Linked DNA regions of Homo sapiens: region 2 is linked to region 1. Evidence: promoter capture Hi-C in human tissues and cell types (Jung and others, 2019). All regions are on one chromosome and are shown on one strand. Each heading gives the region's core, a stretch centred on a gene start or on the middle of the fragment in contact. The rest is flanking DNA. Distances are from core to core; before and after follow the strand shown. Region 1 holds the start of LY6H (lymphocyte antigen 6 family member H). Region 2 has its middle 28 kb from the start of LY6L.

Region 1 (6,143 bases), core at 1,915-4,414:
GGCCACAGGGAGTGGCCTCAGGAGCCCAACTCAGGGCCAGGAGTGGCCGGAGTGGATGTCCAGTGAAGAGGCAGGGTGAGGGAACAGGAGGACTCCACTCGGCCTGAAGCAGCCCCCAGGGGCAGAGACAGCTGGGGTGGGGGCGAGAGGAGGCCAGCACGCGTGGTCTCATCTGTGAGTCTGTGAGGGCACCGTGTGCACTGCACGCTGAGTGTACAAGGGTGGGTGTGCACAGACATGGGCATGCACGTGTGGGTGTGGGCACGTGCACTGGGACACGCCAGTTTGTGCCAGTTATGTGCATGCCCCAGCACGTGTGCGCGGGGCACCTGGGGTGTGTGTGTGTGAAGGAGCAGGGCGGGCACGGGTGTGTGTGCACATGCTGGCTGCGTGGGCACCGTTTGTATGCTTGTCTGGGCATGAGTGTGTGTGCACATGCTGGCTGCGTGGGCACCACTGTTTGTGGGCGTGTCTGGTGTCTGTGGTGTGCTCACAGGATTCCGGTACCTCCCCCCAAGCCCACCCTGTGATCTTGCTCATCTCAGCTCTCACCCCATCACCCCAAGTGCTCCTAAACCTCACCAGGACCAAGCAGCCCCAGCACAACCACCCAGCACCCCAGTGCCCTGAGCCCAAGAGCCCAAGATCCTGGCTGAGCGCCCGCCCTGCCCCCAGCCCCTCCGCTCCCTCAGCACCTCATTCCCAGCTCTCTGCCAGGAACCCTTTCCCGCCCCCGACACCCAGGCTCAGACCCGGGTCTCAGGACTCAAAAGTGACTTTATTTCTCCGCAGAAGACGCCCTTCCAGCTGGGCTGTTGCTTCACTTCCCCTCCGGGACCTGGGGGTCCCCCCCCACCCTCATCCCCAGGCCTCCTGCCCAGATGGCCTGGTTTCCTGGAGATGTCCAGCTGCCTGGGACTCAGAGCTGGCGGAGAGACAGGGAGGCTTCACGTCGGGGGAGGAGTGAGAGCCACAGGCCACAGCCACGGAGCTGGGCCAAGGCTGCCCCCAGCCCCAGCCACGCCAGGCTGGGGAGAGGGCAGCCACAGGCTCAGGGGAGCAAGCTCAGAAGCCCCGTGGGAAGGAGGAGACATCAGGGCCCAGCCCAGAGGAGGGCAGGCCCCAGGCTGAGCAGGAGCCCCCCGGCCAGGGCCCAGGGGCTGTGCCCTGCCCCTGCCGCCCCATTGCACAAATCCTTCTCGCAGCAGTCCACGTCGACCTTTAAGATCCCAGAGTTAATAAACCCCATCAGATAGTCTGAGAAAAAGTGTCGCTTAACGAAGTCACAGGAGGAGGCACACATCTTGTTCACCGAGTGATCCTTCCTGCCTGGGAAGAGAAAGCGTGGCCTGGGACGGGGGCTCCTCCTGGGCCCTCTCTGCCTCATCCCGAGGACCCAGCCCAGGCCCCTCCGGGTCAGCTCGGGGCCCCAGTAGGCAGGGCCGAGTCCCTCCACCCTCCCACGCTGGCCTCAACTAGATGAAAAGGGCCACCAAGGAGCCAGGGGGGGACAGCAGGACAGTATCCTGCCTGCCGCCCCACGCTCTCACTCTCGTCCCAGGCCAGAGGGGCTCCGAGGACACCTCTGACCTCTCTCAAGAGCCTGGCTTTTAGCACATTCCCCACCACCCTAAGTCCCAACTTACTGCTGCTGGGATCGGTGATTCGGACACTGGCACACACCGTGTCGGACGGCTGGCACTGCTTTGGGGTGCAATGGCTGGAGTTGGTGGTCAGGGTGCAGTCCTGGCACCACAGGCCATGAGCTGGGCAGGGCATGGGGAGGAGGGTGACCAGAGGCACTGGGGTCCAAACCAGGCAGCCCCCTGCGCCCCCCACCCATCCCCCTGCTGCAGGCACTCCTGGGAGAGCCCGACCCCACGGGAGGGAGCAGGCCCCCATGACCCCTGGAGGGGGAGCAGAGGCCCTGGGACAACTGTGCCCCATCCTGGCAGTTTGAGGGGAGCCCCTATGGCCCCTCCCTGGCCCCCATGCACGTGCGTGCACACACACACACAAACACACACACGGGCTATACAGACCCCACACCGACAGTGCCCCCCTCACACTCCCGCCCCGCCTCACATATCCCCCCCAGAGGTCCGTGGGTTCCAAGCTGTGAAGGACCAAACTGGATTTGAAAGGAGGCCCGGGAGGCTCTCAGAGGTGACGGATGACCAAGGGCTTCCGTGCGGGGCCAGCCGCCCACCAGTTCCAGGCCCTGGAGGAAGAGCGCTGGAGAGAGCCCAGTGCCGGGGCAGAGGGGCCGAGGGCCGGGCTGGGGTCGCAGGGGTCCCGGAGGGGGCGTGGGCTCTATGCGAAGTGCGGTGGGAACCGTCAGAGGGTGGCAGCCCCACACCCGGCTCTCCCGCGGCGCCTCGGGCTCTCCCAGGCACCTGACCCAGCCCGCGGGCCCCCTACTCACCGGGCGCCGAGCACAGCAGGACGGCCAGCAGCGCCAGGCCGAGGCCCTTCATGGCTGCAGGCAGCATGCTCCGGGTGGGCCTGGGGGCGGCGCGGGGGCTTGGGGCGCGGGTCCTCTGGGGCGCAAGCCTGGAGGGGAGAAGCATCGGTCAGGAGACCCCAAAGACCCTCTCCTTTCCCAGCCTCAGGATGCAACCTTCTCCCCGGAATCCAAGGCCGGGGTCCGCCCGGAGCTCGCAGAGCCCCACCCCCAGCCCCTTCTCCAGAGCGTCCGCCGTCACAGCATCCCCGCCGGGAGACGTCTGGCCTCTGGGGCGAGGTGACAGCTCGAGACGCCTCCGCCCCGCGCCGGCACCTGTGTGGGGGAGCGGATGGGGGGCGTCCTCTTCTCCCCGGGGAGCTGCAGGTGCGTCCGGACAGGAATGAGCGGCAGGGGCGGGAGCGGGTGGGACCTGCCACTGGGGGGAGGGGCGCGTGCCAGGTCCCCACCCCCACCCCTGGGCTGGGGGGCCGGGAACCCCGGGCCGAGTCCCCTCCCTTGGCCTTCCGCGCGCGCCTCGGCGCTCACCGCGGATGGGGCGTGGAGCGCGGGCCTCGGGGTCGGGGGGCTCACTCACATCCCGGGGGTGTCCGCACTCCGGGCTCGGGCGGCGTGCGCGGCGCGGGGAGCTGTGCCCTTCGGTCTCCCTGCGGACCGGAATCCGGGCGCAGCCTCGTCTTTCGGGGAACGCAGCCGCAGACGCGGACCCCGCGCGAGGGGCGGGGCGGAGCCGGGGCGGGGGCCGCGCGGGGGGCGGGGGCGGCTGGGAGACGCGCGGGGCGGGGGGCGCCCGGGGCTCGCGGCCCCCACGCAGGTAGCTGGCCCGGGCCCTCCGCGCCCCCTTGCTGGCGCGCGCGCTCCCTCGGGTTCCCGCTCCCTCCCTCGCGGCGCCCCCTGCTCCTCCCCAGCCTCCGCGGCCCCCTACCCAGGCGTGGGCAGGATCCCTTCCCCCTCTGCTTGGCTGAGATCCCCTTGGAATTTCTCGGAAGAACGTTTACTGCGAAAGGAAGCAAAATGCACAAAGACGCAGAGAGGGGGAGGTACCCGGCGCGGCGCCACGCGCAGGTCCGGGTTCGCAGACCCCTGGGGTCAGACTCCCGCCCTGGGGCCCCGCCCTCCCCCTCCTCCCCGCCCCTCCCCAACCTCATACCCGTTTCCCCGTTTCCCCGTTTCCAGTGGCTCCAGGCCGTTCTCCTCCCCTGAGCATCCATGAAGACCCCCACCAGAAGCCGCAGCCCCAGGGGCTTCTGTCGCCAAATACTCCCACACTCGGAGGTAAAGGTACAAATCCTGGCCAGAGCATCCGAGCCTTGGACCCGTTTCTCGGCTTCCTTGGCCTTCCCGCCCTGCCCTCCAGCTCCCTAAAAGCTGTGCCTTTGCACGTGTCCCTGTGCCTGAAATCCGCCTCCCCGGGGCACTGGGGAAGCCCCGATCTGCCATCGTGCCTTTGGTCCTGCTCCCTTTCATTTGACCTGAAAATGTTTACTGCATGCTCCCTGCTGCCCTAGCCCTGCCCTGAGCCCTGGGAAAGGGCATGAGGAGAGAGACCTGGTTTCTGCCCTCCTGACTCTCCCCTTGGACAAATGGTGATGCCTACTGCAGCATATCTTTGCAGGATGTGACAGAGCTAACATTTATTGAGCATGTACTATGGATTCCACCTGTTCTAGACACTTCATATTTATTATCTCCTTATAGTCTCACCACAGCCCTGCTGTGCAGATAGTATCATTTCCATCTCACAGATGAGGAGACTCACACGGAAAGGCGGCGCTCCCTGCTCGGGGTCACACAGTGACGCAGGTGACAGGTGACCCAGCTGAAGTGGGAACCCAAGCAGCTTGGGCTACAGGGACTGCACACCTCCGCTCCATTGTGGCTCCAGAGGGGTGGAGGCAAGGACGAGATGGACAAGAGACCACCACAGGAGCGTGCTTTGCCTCAGGGTCAGGGAGAGCTTCTCCCAGGACCTGATACTTTAGCCGAGAACTGAATGAGGAGTTGAGATTCATAAGGTGCAGAGGGCAAGAGCTAGATCAAGGTTCAAACACAATTCTTTTCAAAACATACAGAGCTCGCAAGAAAGTAAAAGAAATCTGAGTCCATAAAGAAAGAAGTAAATAGAATAATGGACTCCCAAAGTCTGCCCACTGAGCAGGAGGCAGATGTGAAACTCACAGTGGTCCTGGGCAGACCTGGACCCCCACGGGGTCTGAGGTCCCGGAAGCAGAGCCTGAGGCAGGGATTCCAGAGCAAGCCCTTTGGTTGGAGGTGGGGATAGCAGCCCTGGGGAGTGGGGAAGTGGTCCAGGGTGGGGAAGGAGGCTGGCAAGCATGTGGTACTCAGCAACCCCCCGCAGTGGGGAAATGGAGCCTGACCCCAGAGAGGTACTCTGGGAAGTGGTGTAAACTGTGAGCCTCAGGTGAACTCACCCAAGGGATGAGGGAACAGGTATTTCACAGCGACACCCAAGAGTCATTGATTGAGGGCTGCCCCGAGGGATGCTTTCTCCTGCACCCTCCACTTGGCACCCACACAGAGCCCTCCGGGGAGCCAGGGTGGTCCCAGGTCAGTAGCATCCCTGCTTGCAAAAGCAAAACCAACGATGAATACTCTGGAGAAAGCAAGCCCCAACTTAGGGACTGAGGTTCCCACAGATTTAACTGAATCAAATATGAGTTCAAAATGAAAAATCAGCACATGTCTAAAGAAAGCAAGCCTCCAAGTGAGACTCAGCTGACAGTGACGAGCAACAGATTTAAATCACCACAAACTTTCTAAATGGAAAATATCAAATATAGGATATAAAATTAACCTATTTGTTATGCTTAAGATATATTAAAATAAGGAACAAAGCACTATGAAACCAATCACCATGCTTATCAGAAAAAAATAGAACCTCTAGAAATGAAAAACTTTTCATTGAAATGAAAAGGTCAGCAGAAACCTTGAAAGAATTACGGTAACTGAAAGAAGCCAGTCACAAGAAAACACATTGTGTGGTTTTCTTTTTATGAAATGTCCGGAATAAACAATCCAAGAGAGACAGAAGGTAGCTTAGTGGTTGCCTTGTGCTAGAAGGGTGGGATAGGGGAATCAGTCCTCCTTAGGGACTGGTAATAGGCACTACTAATAAATAAAGTGATAAAAGCACTCATTTAGGAGTGATGAAAATGTTCTAAAAATAGTGATTATGGTCACACAACTCTATGAATATACTACAGACCCCTGGCTTGTATATTTAAAAGGGTAAATGCTATGGTATGTGAATGATATCTCAATAAAGGTGTTTAAAAAAATACTCAGCAAACAGATTACGCAGCAAATTAAACACAACTGAAGAGGGAATTCATAAACTAGAAGATAAATCTTTAAAAAATTACCAAGAATGTAGCACAAAGGATAAGGAAATAGAAAATAGGGAAAATAAGAAACATAAAAGATGGTGTTTTCCTGATGCCCACTTAAGTCTGAGCAAGAAAAGAAGAAAAGAAAAAACTAAAATAAAATAAAACAAAAAGATGGTGTGCAGAGAGCTTATGGAAGTCTGGTTGAAATCTCAAAGGAAAGAGAGTCAATCATTGAAGAAGTTATGCCTGAGAATATTTCAGAACTGATAAAAAATAAGTATGCACAGAGAGGCACAACATGGACTAAATAGAATAAAGAAAAATAAAGT
Region 2 (6,706 bases), core at 3,775-6,274, 50 kb before region 1:
GATCCAGGATTTTTTTTTTTTTTTTTTTTTTTGAGATGGAGTCTTGCTCTGTCGCCCAGGCTGGAGTGCAGTGGCTCAATCTCGGCTCACTACAATCTCTGCCTCCTGGGTTCAAGCATTTCTCCTGCCTCAGCCTATGAAATAGCTGGGACTACAGGTGCCTGCCATGATACCTGGCTAATTTTTGTATTTTTTGTACAGATGTGCTTCACCACGTTGGCCAGGCTGGTCTCCAACTCCTGACCTCAGGTGATCTGCCTGCCATGGCCTTCCAAAGTGCTGGGATTATAGACATGAGCCACCATGCCTGGCCAGGCCAGGATTTTGTTTTAATCATTGCTTATACAAATCAGGTTAGACTGTCTCCCACTGAATTCAGGAAGCCAAGGGAAGCAACGTTTTTGCAGTTCTGGAATATTCTTCTGTTGCACTTTTTTTTTTTTTTTTTTTTTTTTTTTTTTTTGGAGACAGAGTCTCGCTCTGTTGCCCAGGCTGGAGTGCAGTGGCATGATCTCGGCTCACTGCAACATCTGCCTCCCAGGTTCAAGTGATTCTCCTGCCTCAGCCTCCTGAGTAGCTGGGACTACAGGTGCATGCCACCATGCCTGACTAACTTTTGTATTTTCAGTAGAGACAGGATTTCCCCATGTTGGCCAGGCTGGTCTGGAACTCTTGACCTCAGGTGATCCACCTGCCTCGATCTACAGAAGTGCTGGGATTATAGGCATGAGCCACTGTGCCCGGCCGCACTTTTTATTTGTCAAAGTACAAAGGTACTGACACACAAAAAACGTTTTTTCCTTTGTCATTTTTTTTTTGTGGTAAAATGCACATAACACAGAAAACCAAACGCCAAATCTCTCTCATAAGTGGGAGTTGAACAGTGAGAACACAAGGACACAGGGAGGGGAACAACCCACACCAGGGCCTGTTGGGGGGTGGGGAGCAACAGGAGGGAACTTAGAGGATGGGTCAATAGGTGCAGCAAACCACCATGGCACATGTATACCTATGTAACCAACCAGCGAACCACCATGGCACACATGTACCTATGTAACCAACCAGCGAACCACCATGGCACACACGTACCTAAGTAACCAACCAGCGAACCACCATGGCACACGCGTACCTATGTAACCAACCAGCAAACCACCATGGCACACGCGTACCTATGTAACAAACCAGCAAACCACCACGGCACGCATGTACCTAGGTAACCAACCAGCAAACCACCATGGCACGCATGTACCTATGTAACCAACCAGCAAACGACCATGGCACATGTGTACCTATGTAACAAACCAGTAAACTACCATGGCACGCATGTACCTATGTAACCAACCAGTAAACCACCATGGCACACATATACCTATGTAACCAACCAGCAAACCACCATGGCACACGTGTACCTATGTAACCAACCAGCAAACCACCATGGCACACGCATACCTATGTAACCAACCAGCAAACCACCATGGCATATGTATACCTACGTAACAAACCAGCAAACCACCCGGCACACATGTACCTATGTAACCAACCAGCAAACCACCATGGCACATGTATACCTACGTAACAAACCAGCAAACCACCCGGCACACGTATACCTATGTAACCAACCAGCAAACCACCATGGCACACGTATACCTATGTAACCAACCAGCAAACCACCATGGCACATGTATACCTACGTAACAAACCAGCAAACCACCCGGCACACATGTACCTATGTAACAAACCAGCAAACCGCCATGGCACACGCGTTCCTATGTAACCAACAGCAAACCACCATGGCATGTGTGTACCTATGTAGCAAACCTGCACATTCTGCACTTGTATCCCTGAACTTAAAGTAAAATTATTTTTAAAAATTTACCATTTTTATCATTTTAAAGTGTACAATTCAGTGGCATTAAGTACACTTATAATGTGTGACCATGACCACCATCTTGTTCCAGAACCTTCTCATCACTCCAGATGGAAACCCCATGCCCCACTAAGCAGTCACTCCCCATTTTTTCCTCCCCCAGCCCCTAAGCAACCACTTTCTGTCTCTTGGACTTGTCTGTTCTGGACATTTCATATGAATGGAACCATACAGCATGCGGCCTTTGGTGCCAGGCTTCCGAGGTGCATCCACGCGTGTCACATATCAGATGCATCCACACGTGTCATGTATCAGGTGCATCTATCTGCACGTGTCACATATCAGGTGCATCTGCACGTGTCAGGTCCATCCACGCGTGTCACGTATCAGGTGCATCTGCACGTGTCATGTATCAAATGCTGTAAGTCCTAGTCATGAGGAAAATGAAAACCAAAACCACAATGAGATAGATACCTCTTCACACCCACTAGGATGGTCATCGTCAAAACTACAGAAAATAACAAGTGCTGGTGAGAAGATGAGGAGATTGGAACTCTCAGACCCTGCTGGTGGGAATATAAAATGCCGCAGCCACTGGAAACAGTTTCTTATAAAAGTAAACGTGCAAGTCCTGTGCAACACAGCAAGGGCACTCCTAGGTATATACCCAACGGGACTGAAAACAGGCATTCAAACAAAAACTTGTCCATGAATGTTCATAGCAGCTGATATGGTTTGGATGTTTTTTCCTCTAAATATCATGTGGAAATGATCCCCAGTGTTGGAGGGGGTGGGAAGTGACTGGATCATGGGGGTGGACCCTTCACGGATGCCTTGCTGCCACCCCTTGCTAATGAGTGCTTTCTCACAGTGAGCTCCCGGGAGATGTGGCTGTTTAAAAGTGTGCGGCGTCTCCCCCCACTATGTTCCTCCTGCTCCCATCATGGGACGCGCCATCTCTCACTTCCACCATCAATAAAAGCTCTCCGAGGCCTCCTGAGAAGCCTCCGCAAGCCAATGCCAGTGCCATGCTTACTGTCCAGCCTGCAGAACTGCGAGACAAACACAAATACCAGTCTCAGGTATTTCTTTACAGCAACAAAAGAACAGCCTAATATATGCAGCAATATTCACAAGTACCAAATGGTAGAAGCAACCCAAATATCCCTCAACAAATGACGGATAAACAGAATGTTTAAGTGTATACAGAAGAACACTATTCAGCCACTGTCTCACAGTGAACAAGTCCAAACACATCTACCTCAAAGTCCAAGGAAGCTGACAGGCCAAAGAAAGAGGCTGACAAATTCACATCTTTTTTTTTTTTTTTCTTTTGAGGCAGAGTCTTGCTCTGTCGCCCAGGCTGGAGTGCAGTGGCGCCATCTCGGCTCACTGCAAGCTCCGCTTCCCGGGTTCACGCCATTCTCCTGCCTCAGCCTCCCGAGTAGCTGGAACTACAGGCGCCCGCCACCACGCCCGGCTAATTTTTTGTATTTTTAGTAGAGACGGGGTTTCACCGGGTTAGCCAGGATGGTCTCGATCTCCTGACCTCGTGAAATGCCCACCTCGGTCTCCCAAAGTGCTGAGATTACAGGCGTGAGCCACCGCGCCTGGCCCACAAATTCAGTTCTTAAAAAGAAACATTTAATAGGGACTTAGAAACAGAAGCCATGTCAGTCTCAGGCTACGGTGAGTCAAGATGGCGGCTCCCTGCGCCGTCACCACCCAGGCCCAGGGCTTCTATTGCCATAGTGCAGGGGACATGCCTCAGAGGGGGTGGGCAGGAATTTCCCTAAGGCCAGGACTTGTGATAAGGATGTGCTCTTACACAAGGAACAACAGATGAACGGGAACTCTCAGAGGCATTCCCGGAACTGAGGTTAATCAGAAGCCAACACGACAAACTAGCGTCCAAGATGGAGCGGCTTCGGCCTCCATGATCCGCCCGCGCCGCCCCACTAATCCAGCTCTGACCGTCTCACCTGCCCTCCTCTTCCGCGATGGTCCCTGAGCCTTAGGGAGGGTGCTTGGGGTTGTCTGGCTTCAGCAGCGGTGCCTTGGCGTCGGAAAACAGGTCGGGCCCGGTGAGAGTCCCAGTGAGGGAGGGTCACCGGCTGTTGAATCATCTCTAGTCTTCAGGATACCACGACTTCTGTTTTCTCAGAGAAAATAAAACAACAAGAGATACATAACATTAATAATTTGCACACAAGGATGACAATCAAAAGGGAATTTGTATTTCAGAACAGTAACAAAAAAGAACCTATTTCATTAAGAAGCCGACTAAAAGCATCGTGAAGGAAACTAAAACCCGGTTTTTCTTTAGAGACTTGTAGCCAGTGAATGATTCAGGATTAGCCCAAATTGTAAGCAAATAATAACTCAAAAACAACGGTCAGAGCTAGGATCTAAATTTTTCTCTCTCTAGTTTCCCCATTTCTACCAAGGATAAATCATAGTAGGACCAGTTTATTTGCAAAATAAATTTCGGTCTCATTATACTTGGCCTATTTGCATGAAGCGTGGCAAGAATAGTTACCAGCCCTAGAGGCTTTTTTTTTTTTTTTTTTTCCCTGTGACAGGGGCTTGCTCTGTCAGCCATGCTGGAGTACAATGGTGCAATCAGAGCTCACTGCAGCCTCAGCCTCTCAGGCTCAAACACTCCTCCTGCCTCAGCCTCCCGAGTAGCTGGGACCCTTGGCACACCCCACCACACCCAGCTCATTTTTTATGTTTTGTAGAGACAGGGTCTCAGCATGTTGCCTAAGCTGGTCGGCTCTTTTTAAGTTGGCTTTGCTGGAACTTTTTTAGGGAATTTTGGACTCAACTTATTAAAAGCCTCAAGGGTAGGAAGCCAAGCGAAGGATTCACTGAATGAAATTGAAGTATTTTACCGCAAATTGTGTTTCTTTGCCATGTCTTGAAATAGCCTTGCAAAGCTTTCTCTTGTGGGGAAAAGCTGCATTCTGAAGAGAATCCTTTTCCTTTTTCAGGACTTTTCCCTGATTCAAGAGAGAATCAACTCTGGTAAGAAACATTTACAATCTGTTCTCTCTGAAGCTACCTGGAGGCTTTCTCTGTGTAATAGGAACTTGGTCACCACAATCCCTCATTAACCCAGACATTCCTTCTTTTGATTCCAGGTCTTTAGATAGTAACTCCTTCAACCAATTGCCAATCAGTAAATCTTTGAATCTACCTATGACCTGGAAGTCCCTGTTTCAAGTTGTCCCACCTTTCCTGATCGAACAAATGTATGTCTTCCCTGTATTGATTGGTGTCTCATGGCTCCCTAAAATTTATAAAACCAAGTTGTGGCCCAAACACCTTGGGCACTTGTTCTCACGGTCTCCTGAGGCCGTGTCATGGGCCACAGTCTCTCATATTTGGCTCAGAATAAATCTCTTCCAATATTTTACAGTTTGACTCTTTTCGTTGATTTTTTCATGCCTTTACTTTTGCAGTAGTAGGTAGGGGTTTCCCCAGTCCACGTACAATATCCATTTTCCATTTTCCTTTTTTTTTTTTTTCCTGAGTCTCTATTGCCCAGGCTGGAGTGCAATGGCACAATCTCGGCTCACTGCAGCCTCTGCCTCTTGGGTTCAAGCAATTCTCCTGCCTCAGCCTCCCCAATAGCTGGGACTACAGGTGCATGCCACCATGCCCGGCTAATTTTTGTATTTTTAGTATAGATGGGGTTTCATCATGTTGGTCAGGGTGGTCTTGAACTCCTAACCCCAAGTGATCCGCCCACCTCGGCCTCCCAAAGTGCTAGGATTACAGGTGTGAACCACTGTACCAGCTTCAATATCCATTTTCATAAAGCATTTAGGTAAAGGATATGTAATGCCTTACATAAAGCCTGTTTAAACATCTCGGCTTTCATAACTCTATCACACAAGTCGACTTTCATAACTCGACGTCTTTCTGTTCTGCTCCCAGGAACTTCTTTTTCCCACCTCCAGACCATTTTACCCTCTCTTGTGAAAAAGGATGTGGGTGCCCCACAGGGGCTTGATCCAAGGGACCCTGGCCCTTCTGTCAATCTTATCTTGATTAACCCACCTCAACATTGGCCCCCGCAATTGTTGGTCAGTTTGCTCAGTGTAACTTTTGCCTTCCAATTTTTATAGTTAGAGTGCCTTCTCCAATCTGGCAAAAACTGTTTTGGAGCTCTTTACTGTTGAGGGACCAGCGGGGGCTCCCTTTGTTCACCCAACTTTCGATAGTGTTGTATTAAGACCTTTGTGAATAACCCCCCATTATTCATTCCATTGCTTAACAACCATGTACAGATTCCACCCCGCTAGGATGCACCCCATGACTCTCTCCTTTCCTTTTTCCTCTTGGTTTCACCCCATCCACTTTTTACCTTTTTTTTGAGATGGAGTCTTACTCTGCCACCCAGGCTGGAGTGCAGTGGCAGTCTTGACTCACTGCAATTCTCCTCCCTCAGTCTCCTGAGTAGCTGGGATTACAGGTGCGCGCCACCACACCTGGCTAATTTTTGTATTTTTAGTAGAGATGAGGTTTCGCCATGTTGGCCAGGCCAGTCTCGAACTCCTGATCTCAGGTGGTCTGCCCACCTCTGCCCCTCAAAGTGCTGAGATTACAGGCGTGAGCCACCAGGCCTGGCCCATTTTTTACCTATTTAAAACTAATCGTTTAAAAATTTTCCCCTTCCTAGGATGAGTCCTTGGACTCCCTTTTGCCTTTCCCAATAATTTTATTAATTAGCCTAAAGTTTTTATAAGCATCTGGATGACCCATGAGGGGAAGTTGAGACCCAATGAGGTGCCCAGGCCAATGGGCCCCCTTAACCACAGCATTTACCATGAT

What was found. Contacts are between HindIII fragments. The study calls those that stand out against the background at their distance.
Region 2: a fragment that was not itself captured here is called in contact with the fragment with the promoter of LY6H in region 1 in 1 of the 25 tissues and cell types used here (dorsolateral prefrontal cortex).

The regions. Positions count from the first base shown.
Region 1 is chr8:143,157,157-143,163,299 of GRCh38, forward strand. LY6H (lymphocyte antigen 6 family member H) reads right to left here and starts at 3,165. Exons shown (of 4, transcript NM_001135655.2): 1 at 3,042-3,165; 2 at 2,426-2,553; 3 at 1,647-1,766; 4 at 760-1,329. The coding sequence starts at 3,043. The coding sequence ends at 1,094. It overlaps LOC124902035 (a long non-coding RNA gene), which reads left to right and starts at 2,713. Exons shown (of 2, transcript XR_007061136.1): 1 at 2,713-2,830; 2 at 3,641-5,765. The HindIII fragment of the contact is 31,387 bases long and covers 1-6,143 here.
Region 2 is chr8:143,105,136-143,111,841 of GRCh38, forward strand. No RefSeq gene overlaps it. Among named protein-coding and RNA genes, the nearest start is that of LY6L, 28 kb to the left of the region's middle. The HindIII fragment of the contact is 5,687 bases long and covers 2,182-6,706 here.